2 separate regions of the Homo sapiens genome follow, and region 1 is linked to region 2. The links are contacts of gene promoters, found by promoter capture Hi-C in human tissues and cell types (Jung and others, 2019). All regions are on one chromosome and are shown on one strand. The core of a region is centred on a gene start or on the middle of the fragment in contact, and the rest is flanking DNA. Distances in the headings are between cores, read along the strand shown.

Region 1 (6,981 bases), core at 777-3,276, 140 kb after region 2:
CGCCGCTTTCTAGGGACCCCGCCCCACCGGCTGGGACTCTTCCATGCGTGAGTATTACTGAGCTGCCCCAAGGTCCGGCTGTCCTGGACCTGCCTCGGCCCTCTTGGGTGTGCGGCGGAGACTGCTTTGTCTACCTTTCTGCCGACTTCTCTTAGGGACCAGTCTGTTGAAGTTTGTGGTCTCCTGCAGTCCACCACACCGCATACTCTCACCTCTTCCGTCCCAGTTTTTTCCCTGCACTTTTCTTTCCCTTTGCTTGTTAATGGAGCAAGGACCAGCAGCCCCTGCATCCAGCGGTTTGAATGCTTTGTTTGACTTGGGGTTAGTTTACAGCCGAAGGCTGTTAGGAATAGGGAGCATTTGAAAACACGGGTTTTTTCCAGTGTCATCCTTGGGTTTTAGTTGTATTGTTTAGGAAACATTGGTATCCATGTTGACAGAATCATGATTTTTGCCGTAGAATGATGAAAAGAGCTTTTTTTTTTTTTTCCAGTGAGGATCTTTATCTTTTACTTGCTTCTTAATCTTGCAGTTTCAGTAATTTCTGTATGATTTTACACCAGCTTTTCTGGAGCGGGCATCCCCTTGAAGAGTTTCTTTCAATATTTTAACCCTAACATATAGAGATACCACTCGAACAGTTTTACTTTTAAACTGTTAAAAGAACTACTGGTACCCTTTCATTCCACTTCCTCAGTCCTGACAACCTCTGCAGAACAGGGGACACTCCCCCCCCCCGCCCCCCCCCCTTGAAGAAACACACTCAGAAGAACACACTCAGAAGTTAACTTATCCGGATAAGGTCAGATAATATGTGACCATCTGAGCTCACAAGCCATATCCCTTGATAACAAAACCTAATGTTTTATAAAGTGCCAATTCTTCTATATTTCAAGTAGTTTAAGTGTGAAACATTGAGCTGGAAATGTATAAGGTGTGATGTTTCTTGTAAACTTCTATTTGATTATAATATCTTACAGATGATACAAATCAGTTGACAAAAGACACAAATCATCACTTGCCTAAAGCTGAACAGAGCTTAGATCAGAACTTAGGCTTTTGACCCATTAGAGTCTGAGTAGTCCTTTAATTCGAATAACGTAAGTAGTAGACACTGGGAACATTCGTTTGAAAATCTTATTTTGTAAGGCCTGCTTACTCAGTGTTTGTCGTTGTTTTGTTGCCTACTTTAAAAATAGTCTACTGATGTTTAAATGTTTTTGTTGTCGTTCAGAGTTGAAACTGGTTGACAACCATTAACCTGGGTTGCAACTACAGGTGGCACTGGAAGCAGACTGGTTCCTGGACATGCCCGGTGGAAGGAGGGGCCCTAGTCGGCAACAGCTAAGCCGTTCAGCTTTACCTTCTTTGCAGACTTTGGTTGGTGGAGGCTGTGGCAATGGAACAGGCTTGAGAAACAGGTAAAGAAAAAATAAGGCTATATATAATTTTAATGTCCTTTGATCAGTAAGACTAACATAAAAGTCATCATGTCATTCAGATATTTGCTTATTGAGATTTATTCTTGACACTGTGGTAGAAATCCTGCCCTTCAAGACAAAATTCAGAATTCCAAAATACTTTGGAGGTAAAAAGATGTGAAATGGGGCCCACAAAGTGAAAGCAGTCCCATTCTTTATTTTGGCTGATCATCTAAATTCTTGTTATCCCCTTTTTATCTATTAGAAGAAGGGAGAAGTGAATGAAAATACAAGGTAAGTGTGATGGTTTATCTACTTATAAGCATTCTTTTTTTAGAGGGCAAATTATAAGTCAAATTCCATCAAGGATTTTAAATTGTCAAAAAATTGTTTGGTCTTAATAAATGTTAGCTGTTTTTTAGCTGGGTTAGCCCATGCCATCAGGAGGTTTGATAATGTAGCAGTTCAAAGAGATACTTTTACCTAATGAAGTATTTGCTCAAGATATTTTCTGCCAGCTAATTTCTCCTTCCTCCCTGAAAAAAGTTTTTCTCTTGTCTTGATTTTAATTTTCAGAGCTAGCAATCAGTACTACTGTATTTTCAGGCCTGTCTAATGGTATTTATGCACTTTTGTTTTCTAGGCCTGACCTTTGTCCTTTTTTTTTCCTGACTTTCCAATCCCTCTTCCACCCAATCTTTAAAATTAGTTCTGATCTCATCATTTCAGTGGAGCTCTCCCTGAAATTCCAGTTTGAAGGGATTTTTCCAGTCTCCGATTCTCATACTAATTTTTAATCCGAGTTTTGTTTATGTATGTATACAGAGTAACTAGTTTATGCTAGAGTATTTTTTACTCTGCCGTTCGTTGGATTTCCTTATTTTAAAAATGATGGTACTGTTTGCATCATAGCAGGATGTTGAAATAAATGAAGTAGTAAATTGCAGTAACTTTAAAAAACTTTACTGAATTTTACAAAATTTCTACAAATAAGTATTATTTTATATACTTAAAAATAAGAATGAGAATATGCGAAAATGCTTTTGAAGAAAGGTACTATCTAATATAGGTATTGAGATAAAAGTTGTTTGCTCTTTGAGGTACATGCCTTAATTTTATTAATATATGCTATCAACTTATTGATTCAGTACTTTCAAATTGTGATAGAAAATCTTAGCTGTCCCTAACTAGGATTCTAGCCAACTAAAAAATTCTAACTTTGCCTCCTAACTCTAGCAGTTCTTTGTTCGTTCTCTTTGACTTTGGCTTTGAGGATTCCTCTAGATAATTATGTTCTCTAGATAAAAATGTTCTTAGACTGTCCCATGAAATCCCTCTTCAGTGTCTCAGGGGTTGCTGTAGGAGGGCTTAGAAGGGAAAATGGATCAGGCAAGCCTAACAGTCTAGGCTTGAGTTTTCCTCGTCTTCTTTTAATTAGACTGACTCATTTTCCTATGTGTTTTAAATATTAAGATACTATGTAAAATATCATGAGGAAAGGAAAATAAAGCGTTCTGCTATTAAAAAGAACTGAAAGCCAATGAAAATGTCATTTGTAGATGCTTCTGCTTGCACTTAGAGTCTGCAGATGGTATACTGGGAAGAAGTAGGAACGTTCGGAAAATACCTCGGCTCTTGACTGGGTTTGGTATTCTTTTCTCTGCCTTCACTGTAGCTCTTCTATCCTGGTATTCAAGGTTCCAACCATGGTTGCTTTAATCTGCCTTTCTCTCCTCCTTTAACATATGTTTATTTAGCAATTAACTGGGGGGAGGGAGGGAGTGGGTAGAAAAAAGTATTTTCCAACATTTTAAAATGAAAGAAATAATTGTTTATGGTTTGAAAAGTCACCAAGACTATTATTGAGTGATTATTTGTGACATGTTTACCTAGAGAAATTATTTGGGGAAAAGAAAGCTTTATATTTCTTTCTTGGTGGGAAGCAAGCAGCTGGAATAATTTGTTATAAAAGACCTGGGGACGAGGTATGAAAACATGAAAGAACTAGCGGATAGCTTATAATATAGTTTTAGGAAGGATATATAGAAAGAAGGAGTGTCCAGATGAGGAGAACTCACTTCTGGAGTGTCTATAGAGTATTGGAGGGAAATAGATAATTGCTTCAGTATTACATACTTTTGGATGATACATTTGATTCTGCAAGACAGACATAGGTCAGCTGGAGAGGAGAGAATTTGTCCCTGTTTGGTAGGTGCTTGTGGTCTGATTGGTGAAGTTAAACTCTAGAATGTCAAGGAGCTAGTTTGGTAACACAGTCAAGGTTGAAATTGTAGTTCCTTGTCCTGCTGTCCACCTTTGGGGAGCAGGGATTTGTTCTTGCAACAGTGTATTTAAAGTATTATCCTTTTAAAAAAGGAAGATATATTGTGTATTTCTGGATTTCTTAGAGAGTTCCTGATTGAGGGAGAATCTTATTTGAGAAGAACTATTGTTTTCTTTGCTTATTCCTTGCATATACTTTGTTAATAATATCACCTGAACGTGTCCAAATGACCACTGCTTTCCCTACCTCTTCTATTCCTCTTTATGCCTTTGAATCTTTCTTCTTTCATCCATTTGCTTCCCTAAATTCTGCTGCTTGCTGGCTCCATACCAGTCAGTCTCAGGCCTGCTGTGTTAACCCTTTGCCACACACAAACTTTATATGCAAGGACAAAACACAGGTGTTCAGCATAAACCACATTGTTTGTATAAACAGTTTAGGCACAGTGAGCCACTCTAGTTATTTAGGGAAAGTTTATATCACTGTAGGGAACTGTTTACTAGTCATGGTTCCCAGATGTAAGCCTTGTAAGCAGGCCTTCCTAAGAGTAGCTATGTTGAACACCTGCATTCTTTTTGGGAGTCTAGAATTTTGGTACTGCTAGAAAGAAGGTGCCCATGTGGCCAGCCCCCAATAAAAACCCTGGGCATCAAGTCTCTAATGAGCTTTCCTGGATGAGTAGCACTTCACATGTGTTGTCACAACTCATTGCTAGAGAATTTATATGGGTTCTGAATAGATTCTTAAATCTATTTTTATATTCTTTTTTTGGTTTTGTTTTTGAGATGGAGTTTCACTCTTGTTGCCCAGGCTGTAGTGCAATGGTGCTACCTCAGCTCACCACAACCTCCGCCTCCTAAGTTCAAGCGATTCTCCTGCCTCAGCCTCCCAAGTAGCTGGAATTACAGGTGTCCACCACCATGCCTGGCTAATTTTTGTATTTTTAGTAGGGATGAGATTTCATCATGTTGGCCAGGCTGGTCTTGAACTCCTGACCTCAGGTGTTCCGCCCGCCTCGGCCTCCCAAAGTGCTGGGATTACAGGTGTGAGCCACCACGCCTGGCCAAGAAAAGTTTTAATATGACTCCCAGGTTTCTGATGTGGGCAGCTAACTGAGTGGGCCATGAACTAAGGTCAGGACTATAGGAGGGAAGAACACAGAGATGTCCAGTAGGGAGTTGAATAATGTGTCTATAATTTAGCAGTGAGCTCTATGGAGAGAAATTATAGTCTTCATCATGTAGGAGATAATGGAGGCCATAGCTGCATCTTAGATCACTGACAGAAAGTGTGGAGGGAGAAAAGAGGATCCCAGGATGGAGTCTTGTGGGGAAAGCAGACAGTGAAGGGGTAGATGGAGGAGACAGCAGGAGCCCTTTATGTTCTGTGATACTGGAGGTTATCACCATTTGAGTTAACCATAGTTTTCTCTTTCAGGAATGGTAGTGCTATTGGCCTTCCAGTCCCACCTATCACAGCCTTAATCACCCCAGGTCCTGTTCGTCATTGCCAAATTCCTGACTTGCCTGTGGATGGGAGCCTACTCTTTGAATTCCTTTTTTTCATCTACCTGTTGGTTGCTCTTTTCATTCAGTACATCAACATTTATAAAACAGTGTGGTGGTATCCTTACAATCATCCTGCTTCTTGTACATCACTGGTAAGTCTTACTCAGACTTTAAGTTCTTCATGTTACTTACCCAAGAAACTACCTGGAAAGCCTTTCTGTAGAAATTGTTTTTCTTAATAATTTTTCTTTTAATAAAATGTTTTTCTGCTAGGCCACAGATTACTTTCAGAAATAAAATTTCATGATAAGATGGTTAAATTATAAGTACTACCAGAGGAAGTAAAAATATAAATGAAAATGCAGAAAACATTTAAATAATTTTTTATAATAATATCACGGAAAGGTTTTGGTATTTAGTTTTCTCTACACCATTTTAAATTTGTAAGTATAAGGTGTCAGTGTTACTACATTCTAACAACTCTACCCTTTTAATGGCTGAATTAGGATAGTGGTAGCTTCTGTAACAAATAAACTCTGAGGCAGTTGTCCTGGTTGCCAGGAGTTCTTCAGGGGACCCAGGCTGATGGAGATTCTACTGTCTTCCAACATGTGACCTCCAAGGTGGCTGTGGCCCATCCCTGTCAGCCAGAAGGGGAAAGAGCTTAGGGCAATGTAAAGGACAGTTTCTTATGGGCCAGGCTTACATCATTTCCACACATGTCCACTCCTAATTACAAGAGAAGCTAAATATAGTCCTTTAGCTGGGTACATAGTGAACTTAAATCAAATTGGGAAATTGGGAAGTGAAATTGAGAAATTGGCTGTCTTTGCTGAAGTACATAAAAATATATTGTAGGTTTCTTCTGTTCTCTTTCCATTTATTAAGAGTACCATGATAGGCCGGGCGCGGTGGCTCACGCCTGTAATCCCAGCACTTTGGGAGGCTAATGCGGGCGGATCACGAAGTTAAGAGATCGAGACCATCCTGGCTAACACGGTGAAACCCTGTCTCCATTAAAAATATAAAAAATTAACCGTGTGTGATGGCAGGCGCCTGTAGTCCCAGCTACTTGGGAGGCTGAGGCCGGAGAATGGCATGAACCCGGGAGGTGGAGCTTGCAGTGAGCCGAAATCGAGCCGCTGCACTCCAGCCTGGGCGACAGAGCGAGACTCTGTCTCAAAAAAAAAAAAAAAGAGTACCATGATAGTCTTGATGCAGAGAAGGTTCACCATAGATGGGTATATAAAAAAATATTGGTAAGGCCTGGGCATGGTGGCTTATGCCTATAATCCCAGCACTTTGGGAGGTGAAGGCAGCAGGATTGCTTGAGCCCAGGAATTTGAGACCAGCCTAGGCAACATAGTGAGACCTTGTCTCTACAAAAAATAAACAAAATTAACTGGGCATGGTAGTGCACACTTGTGGTCCTAGTTTCTGGGGAAGCTGAAGTGAGGATTGCCTGAGCCCAGGAGATCAAGACTACAGTGAGCTAAGATTGTGGAAACTGTACTAAGGCTAGTCAGATGACTTGACAGATAGGTTGTTGGCAATGGCAGATTTGCATGAGTGATAGAGATAGGCTCTAGGCGAAAGAAGACTATTGTCTTATATATGTGTTTGGGACTAATAAAGATTAGAAAGCCTCCCTATCATGGTGAACATAGAAAGGAAATGTGGGCCAAAATCCTTAAGATAGTATGGAAAGAGAATAAAAATTTTTGTTTTAAATATTTGTATCATTTGGTTGTTCCTGGTATTAAAAATT
Region 2 (7,273 bases), core at 3,718-6,217:
ACATCCTATTTCAGTTGTAACCTGCTTGTGTTCCTCACTTCATTTCTCTCAATCATCCTTACCCTGGTCTATTTATTTGTTAGCAATCATCACCTTCTAATCTACTATGGAATTTGCCAAGTTATTATACTTATTTTCTATTAGTGGTCAGTCCACATTAGAATGTACTTTTGAACAAAGCAGGGATTTTTAAAATCCATTTTGTTCACTCTACTGCCTAAAATAGTACCTGTCACACACAAAGAGCCAGTACCCAAAACTGGCTCTTTGAAAAGAATAATGAGCTAGATGTACTTTTGATAAGACAGAGTAACAGAACAAAGGGAAGTTAAAAGTAAACAATATCAGGAATAAAAAAGGTATATAAATACAGACAGTAGATTTCCTTACACCATAAAAAAGTTTATATCCACCCCAAAACTGAAAATACTGATATTTTGCTAGAAAATGGATCATTTCCTAGAAAAACGTAACTTACCAAAACTTAGTCAAGAAAGGAAAAACAGAAAATCAAATGTAAAACTATAGCATAAAGGAATTGAAACACTAGTTTCAAAACTATCCCTCAGAAAAGTCTAAGAGGCCTGAGAGTTTCACAGAGGAATTCTATTGATCCCTAGCTTACACATGCTGTTCCAGGAATAGAAAATGGGAGACAGGATTCCAGTTCATTCTATGAGAATATCCGAAGTACCAAAAGTGCAAAGGACAGGGGAGAAGGAAAAACTAAAGGCTACTTTCATTTATAAACATAAACAGAAATCTAAGATAAAATATCAGCAAATCTAAATCCATCCAGGATAACAAGACCACAAAGTACATCATGGCCCAGCAAGGTTTGCTGGGCCAATTCTTTGCAAAGAATTAAAGGCTGTTTTAACATTAAAAAAAGTATTAATATAATTCACGTATGAACAAACTAAAGAAGAAAAACCATATGCTCATCTCAACGGATGAGCAGAAAAAAAGAACACTTGACAAAATTCAACCCTCTTTAACATAAGAAAGGATATCTCCTAAAAGCCTACAGTAAGGATTAGATTTACTGGGAAATATTAGAAGTATTCCATTTAGAACAGGGAACAGATAAGAAATGTCTGCTATCACTGCTTCTATTAAATATTGTGCTAGAGGACCTAGTCCTAACCACTGAAACAAGACAATGCAATGGGATAAAAGTTATAAAGTTTGAAAAGGGAGAGAAGAAAATTGCCAGTATTTGAAGCTGATAAATAGGGAAGCATATTCAGATACTGCCTCTACCTAGCCACCACTCCAACCAAAGAACAGTGACACATGAGTATCTGGCCAGGCTGACCAGAGATTTATAAACAATAGAAATGAGGGGTGCAGAATGAAATACTGGCTTGTCTGAGTCTGAAAATAGCCTATAGTTTTCTATTCTTGAGTCTTTGACACTGAAGAAGTGTTAGAGAAGGGTGAGTAAGGCCTGGTAACACCCATGTTTCCATAATGGAAAGTGACTCTCAGGCATATATGACAGAGCTCCCTTCACCCGCCTGGGCTGCTCATGGTTCCCATGGGTGGCCTCTGTGATCTGCAAATGCTGGAAATGTGCTACTCTGCACTCCCACCTGCACCTGTCTCAGGTGTGTTCTGTAGATCGGTATCCCCCATGGGCTTTTGTTTCGTAGAAGTGTTATTTTGCTAAAACAGTTTTGATTCTGTGGCCTGGACCAAGAAGGGAAGGGTGTTCTGGCAGTGACAGAGTTGGCACAAAACCACATCAGACACTTTGTTATCAAATGTGGAGATGACAGAGGAGCCATCGGTGCATGTGTCGGGAAGCAGGCACCCTCCTCCAGGCTCCTCGGGAAGACACTGCAGGAGGGGAGGAGGGCGGAGGCCCCCTCCCAATAGCTGACTTGAGGGTGGCTCTGCCACGCATGCAGGGTGCAGCACCACCTTCAGGCCCAGGCTGGCCTTACAGAGGCTGGTGTCACAGGCTGCTTCTGCCACCAGCTCAGCACTATGGGCCACTGAACTTCCTGCCACCCCCTTGAGCCCTGGGCTCCCCACAGACAGAGCTGTGCTATCAGATGACCTGTGGATTGAGGCATCAGCAGCCAGGAGTGTCTCTGAAATGGGCCACCCTCTGGAACCCTTCTTTGGCTGAATTGTTTCAGGATGAGTGTCATTTAATCAATCTGCCTAACGTCAGGAAGTAGAGATGAGGACTGCAGCCCGCTCAATTTCTTTCTTCTCAGTTACCAAGGCTTTTGGCTTATTGAATGTGTCCTGTGTGCCTGGGCCTGGGTGAGGCTCTGGGGATTCAAGGATGAAGAAGACGCCAGCCATAACTGCCCTTTGGGAGCTCAAAGTCTAGCGGAGAAAGGGAAAATAAGCAGGCCCCACAGCAAATAGGGATGTAAGATCTGTGACCAGGAAACATAGGTACTGAGAGAACACAAAGAAAGACCACCTACCCCAGATGGAGGAAGACTTGTGCATCCACCTGGAGGAGAGGACGCCTGAGCCAGCCTGGAAGCTCAAGGGCCAGGTTGATCAAGGAGCTCAACAATCTAAAGCTCCACAGTCCAAGGAAAAACTAGGTGTGACTGGGGTTGTCATGAAAGATTGTGTGGGTACACAGCCAGGAAAGTGAGTGGAGGCTGAACTTCCAAGAGGCCCATGTGGGTCAGCTACTGCCCTTGTGTGACAGCAGGCACCTGGATACCTCCTGAACCTCCTCCCTCCCGATCATTTGAGCTCTTCCTTTCCTTTACCTTGAGCTCTCTGCATCCGGCATCTTCTTTCTGTCCACCTACTTCATCTAGGCTGTCTGAAGTCAATTACATCCTTTTTCCTTTTCCCTTTGGCATATTTCTATCCCTCCCAGCCACACACACACACACACGCACACACACTTCTATCTCTGCCTATCCATCAACTCACTTAATTTCTGAGACAGCACTACTAAAAGTAAGAATAAGGAACATTAACTTAATAAATATTGTTGCTGTTGACAGTGAAACACTCAGTTAAGGTGGGAAAGGAAGAGAAGCGGATGGGAAATAGAGAATGCCTCACTGGGTAAGTGTGAAAAGAAAGACACCAGAGACAAACAAAGGCAAGAAGACCAGGCAAGGAAATACCCAGGCCCTGCTAACATGTTATTATAAGCCCACTTCCTGCCCAGAGCATCTAGAATGATTCCCACATATGTGGCTGGAACCTGATCAGCTTCTGCGCTGACCCTAACCCTGCTATCTGGTTCAGAATTTCTGAGCTTCTCTTATCTGTGTGACAGAGGCCCCAGGCTTACCGACAGATGAGCTTCCAAAAAGAGTTTGATGCCAATTTGCTATAGTCCTCCCACTCCTCAACCTTCAAATCAGGACAACTAGCAAATGCCTTCCAGCCCCTAAGGAGGCCTGGGGCTCCTGAGCAGGGACAAAGTGGGCCTGCCAAGCCCACTTCTCAGAACGGGACCCACAGCTCTCCTAGGTGATACCTCCCACCTTCTCTCCAAGGTGGCTCATGACAGCCCTGTTCCCTCCACTTCCATCAGCCTAGACAACAATTTGCTAATAATAAAATCACAAAGGAATAAGCAACTGCAAAAGTCAGGCCCTGTGCACAGATGATCCCATTCAGTCCTTACAGCATTCCTATCTGGTAAGGATCATCTCTAGCTACAGGTAAAGAAAGCCACTTCCTCAAGGTCACATAGCTACAAAGAAACAGAGCCAGGATTCCAGTCTGGGTTAGCCCGACCCAGACAGAGCCTATTCCCCATCAGCTCAGCCCATTGCCTCCTCTAAGCATCAATGTCTGCAATATTCACTGGACATCTGCTCTATACAGAGCACAGCACTAACTATGCTAAAAGAGACAGAAGCCTCAAATCCTCACCTTTTAGGGACAACTAATTGAGGTAGGAGAAAGCACATACAGAGCTCAACAGCACCTCTGAAAAACCACCCATGAGTGCAAGGAGAGCATGCAGTCACCCAGTGGAACTTTGTAGCAGGGAGGGGTGCTGAGCAGAAAAAGAATGAGTACAAGGGAGATAGGAATACAGAAGCCCCCTTGAAAGATGCAAAGAACAGAAATCAATCCAAAGGTGATGTGAGCAACCCCAGGCAGAAGCAATGACATATTCTAGAGCCAGGGAATGAGAATTAAATGTCCAGCGGAGAAGACAGAAAAGCAGCCTGCTATTGTGAGTAGAGGGAGGGGATTTTTCTAAGGGTGACCTCACCATAGTGAGAAGGAGTCTTCTGAGAACTTCTGAGAACCCAAAGTAGAGCAGGTTAATTTTCTGTTAGGCAAGAGGGATCAGTGGGTCAGTTCTTTACTGGGGGAAAGGTAAATGCAAATTGGCATCTGAGGGAAGTTTTCCCAGGGGCATCTGAGGTTAGCAGGGACTAGTTCCCATCACCCAGCCAGGATGACAAACCACTTGAGTTAGGTTGCTGGATTAGAAAGGACATCTAACAATCTCAGTGACAAAATCATTATTAGTTTGGAAAACCTAAATTTTAAAATTAAATATATCTTGGAATGGTGGATATTTATGGGGTGAAAAATGAATATCTTAGAATTAACCAAATTTTATTTTCTTACAGTTGGTCCTGGCTTGTGCAAGGTGAGAAAGGGTTTTTTTATGTGGGCTTTAGAAAAATGAGTCGGATAACCAGGGAAAGTTCAGGTTTTGTGACCTGTTTACCATCATTCCGATTATGATAAAAGGGGTTTTTTTCCCCTACTGTTTTAAATTCACCTCAGAAGAGGCAAAAGGCTTTTAGGGGATCTTCCAAAAGTTAGTACTGCATAAGTAGTTGGAGAAATATGATCACTGACTGAAATAAGTTCCTCCCAAGGCCTGAGCCCTGGCTTACCTGAACTTCCAACGCTGAGCCACAAAATGAGGCCCCCCACCCAGAAGCAGCTCTCCCAGGGACCTGGGGGCATCGCTGAGCTGGAAATCTCAGAGCTGGTATGGAGTAATTCCCTAAAGCCAAAGAGATCATATAACCCAGCCTCTCAGAAAACACCCACGTGGATTTCACTAATCATTAACTAGCCTCATGACCTGAAAAGGAAAAATAAATTCTTCTTTATTTATTTAAATGCCAGAGTTTTCGGTTTCTTCTTCTCAATGAAAATAAATACACTTTCTTTTTTGTTAACCAGAGTGCATTGAAACACACTGTCCCTCTTTGAGCCAAACATGATCAGGAAACTATTTCCTGCACCTCTCCCACTTCCCGTGATAGGATGTTAGTAATAACCAAGGCAGAAGTCCTGCATCTCTGGGTGGCCAGAAACCCCTCATTGTGTTGGAATTATCTGTGGACATGTGTGTCTCCCTAGAAGATTCTGAGTGACTTGAGAGCAAAGGCTTTCTCTTTTCATTTTTGAATACCCAGTGCCTAGCACAAGACTGAGATAATACTATATATTAAGTGTCCATTTAAAGGGAAGAAGGGAAGAAAAAGTTTCCTCTGGAGAGTACTATCATTTTGTAGAATCTTGGGGCTAGGAGTCAAGTCCAACTTTGGAGATGTTCAACTTCCTGAATTCACAAAGAAACTGCATATTAGAAAAAGAAAATGACCTGTAGAGATCCCGTTGGTGGAAGTGGCAGAGCCGGGCCTGGAACCAAGATGGTTCCAGCACCATATGGCCTCTCCACCCCAAAGAGTGGCAGAAACCACAAAGAGCTATTTCTAGGCAAGTCAATGGGGCAGAGGCAGAGGGCAGGGCACTTGCCCCCCACTCCCTAAATCATAACACATTGCTGTGAGGTAGACAGCCCACTGGCAGGGCCAGGATCATCTTTTCCAAACAATAACTCTCTGAGGTGAGTATTATCACAGAGAAGTTAAGTAATTTGTACAACAAATTACTTATTTGTATTATAATTGTATACAAATTACTTAACTGTGACAATTACACAGTTAGTAAGCACAGATAAGTACAAATTACTTCTCTGTGATAGAAGTAATTTGTATTAAATACAAACATTTGTGTTTTACACAGCTGGTAGGGCACAGAGAATTTAAGTCATTTGCCTGAGGTCATGCAGAGCTGGGATTTAAAGCGGGATGAGCCAGCCCCAGAATCCATGCTCTGAGCAACGATACTCTACAGCAACAACTCCTGAAGAGGCTCTGGGACCATGTCATCATGGCTGAACGCAGGATACAATTATTTTGGAGGGGCTAGCCCTTACATCCCCTTGTGCACATGATCTCACTGCTCAAGTGCTGCTGCAACCAGGAAGGGGTGTGGCAATAAGTAGTGCACAGCAGAGGTCACTACTGAAAGCTGTCTTGATATTAGAGACCAAGCCAAGTGTATGAGTTCAGGTCCTCGGAGAAGAAGATGCCAAGGTAAGACAAGATATGCAAGAGATTTATCGAGCTAACACCTGTAAAGAATAAGAGGTACTAGAGAAGCCAGGAAGCGCCTTTAGATGGTGGTGAACATCTGATACCTGTGAAAGAGAATGGGCAGGAAAGAGAGGATTACATAGGAAGAGTCTCAGGCTGCAGCACAGTTTCTAGAATATTCTGACCAGGCCAATGGGGACTCCTCAGGCCAAAGTCTTTTGTGACAGCAGATGTGTTTTGTAGAAATGAGCCTGCATTAGCAGCCACATCTTGCTTAGTCATTAGCTGAGGTCAGCCTCAGCACAAAGACAGAGGTAGATTCAGAAGACAGCAGCTGGAGCCATCAGTCAATCATTTTCCCTACAGCAGGAGAACTGAGGGCTGTTTTCCTAGCCACCCACACCGTGGCCAGAGATAGTTAATCCAGGGTGCCCTTGTGCATGGCATGAATACAGCTGACATTGAGAGAGCACTTTCACTTTCTTTCACATCCAACATCTAGCACAGAGCTCTCCAAGCGGGGTCAGAGTGGTCCCTTCCAGAACCCCCTGCCTCACAACCATCCAATTGACTTGGGACAGATTGCTGGATCCACCCCAGACACACAGAATGAGAATCTTTGGAACTGGGCCCAGGACTCTGCAGTTCCAGCAGGCTCCTCGGGTGATCGTACGCATGCTAGAACCACTAGTCTTCTGTTAATACTTACAATAGCCATGTCCATTTCACCAGTGGAGAAACTGAAGCTCAGATAGGCCAGGGGCTAGGGACACTGCTTGAGAGGGCCAAGGCGAAACAAGATATGCAAGAGTTTTATTGGACTAAACCTCGTCCTTCTGAAAAGTGAGATTACATATTTTAGAAGGTGAGGATGAGACCCTCCTACCTGGAGACACTGAGAGAGCCACAAT

Evidence for each region. Contacts are between HindIII fragments. The study calls those that stand out against the background at their distance.
Region 1: a fragment that was not itself captured here is called in contact with the fragment with the promoter of PLA1A in region 2 in 2 of the 25 tissues and cell types used here (stomach and thymus).

The regions. Positions count from the first base shown.
Region 1 is chr3:119,456,402-119,463,382 of GRCh38, reverse strand. It overlaps TMEM39A (transmembrane protein 39A), which reads left to right. Exons shown (of 9, transcript NM_018266.3): 1 at 1-47; 2 at 1,235-1,421; 3 at 5,143-5,365. The coding sequence starts at 1,309. Among named protein-coding and RNA genes, the nearest start is that of TMEM39A, 3.7 kb to the left of the region's middle. RefSeq lists an enhancer at 1-97. The HindIII fragment of the contact is 7,294 bases long and covers 1-5,673 here.
Region 2 is chr3:119,595,579-119,602,851 of GRCh38, reverse strand. PLA1A (phospholipase A1 member A) reads right to left here and starts at 4,967. Exons shown (of 11, transcript NM_015900.4): 1 at 4,866-4,967. The coding sequence starts at 4,938. RefSeq lists enhancers at 1,451-1,950, 2,131-2,270, 4,099-4,288. The HindIII fragment of the contact is 21,246 bases long and covers 1-7,273 here.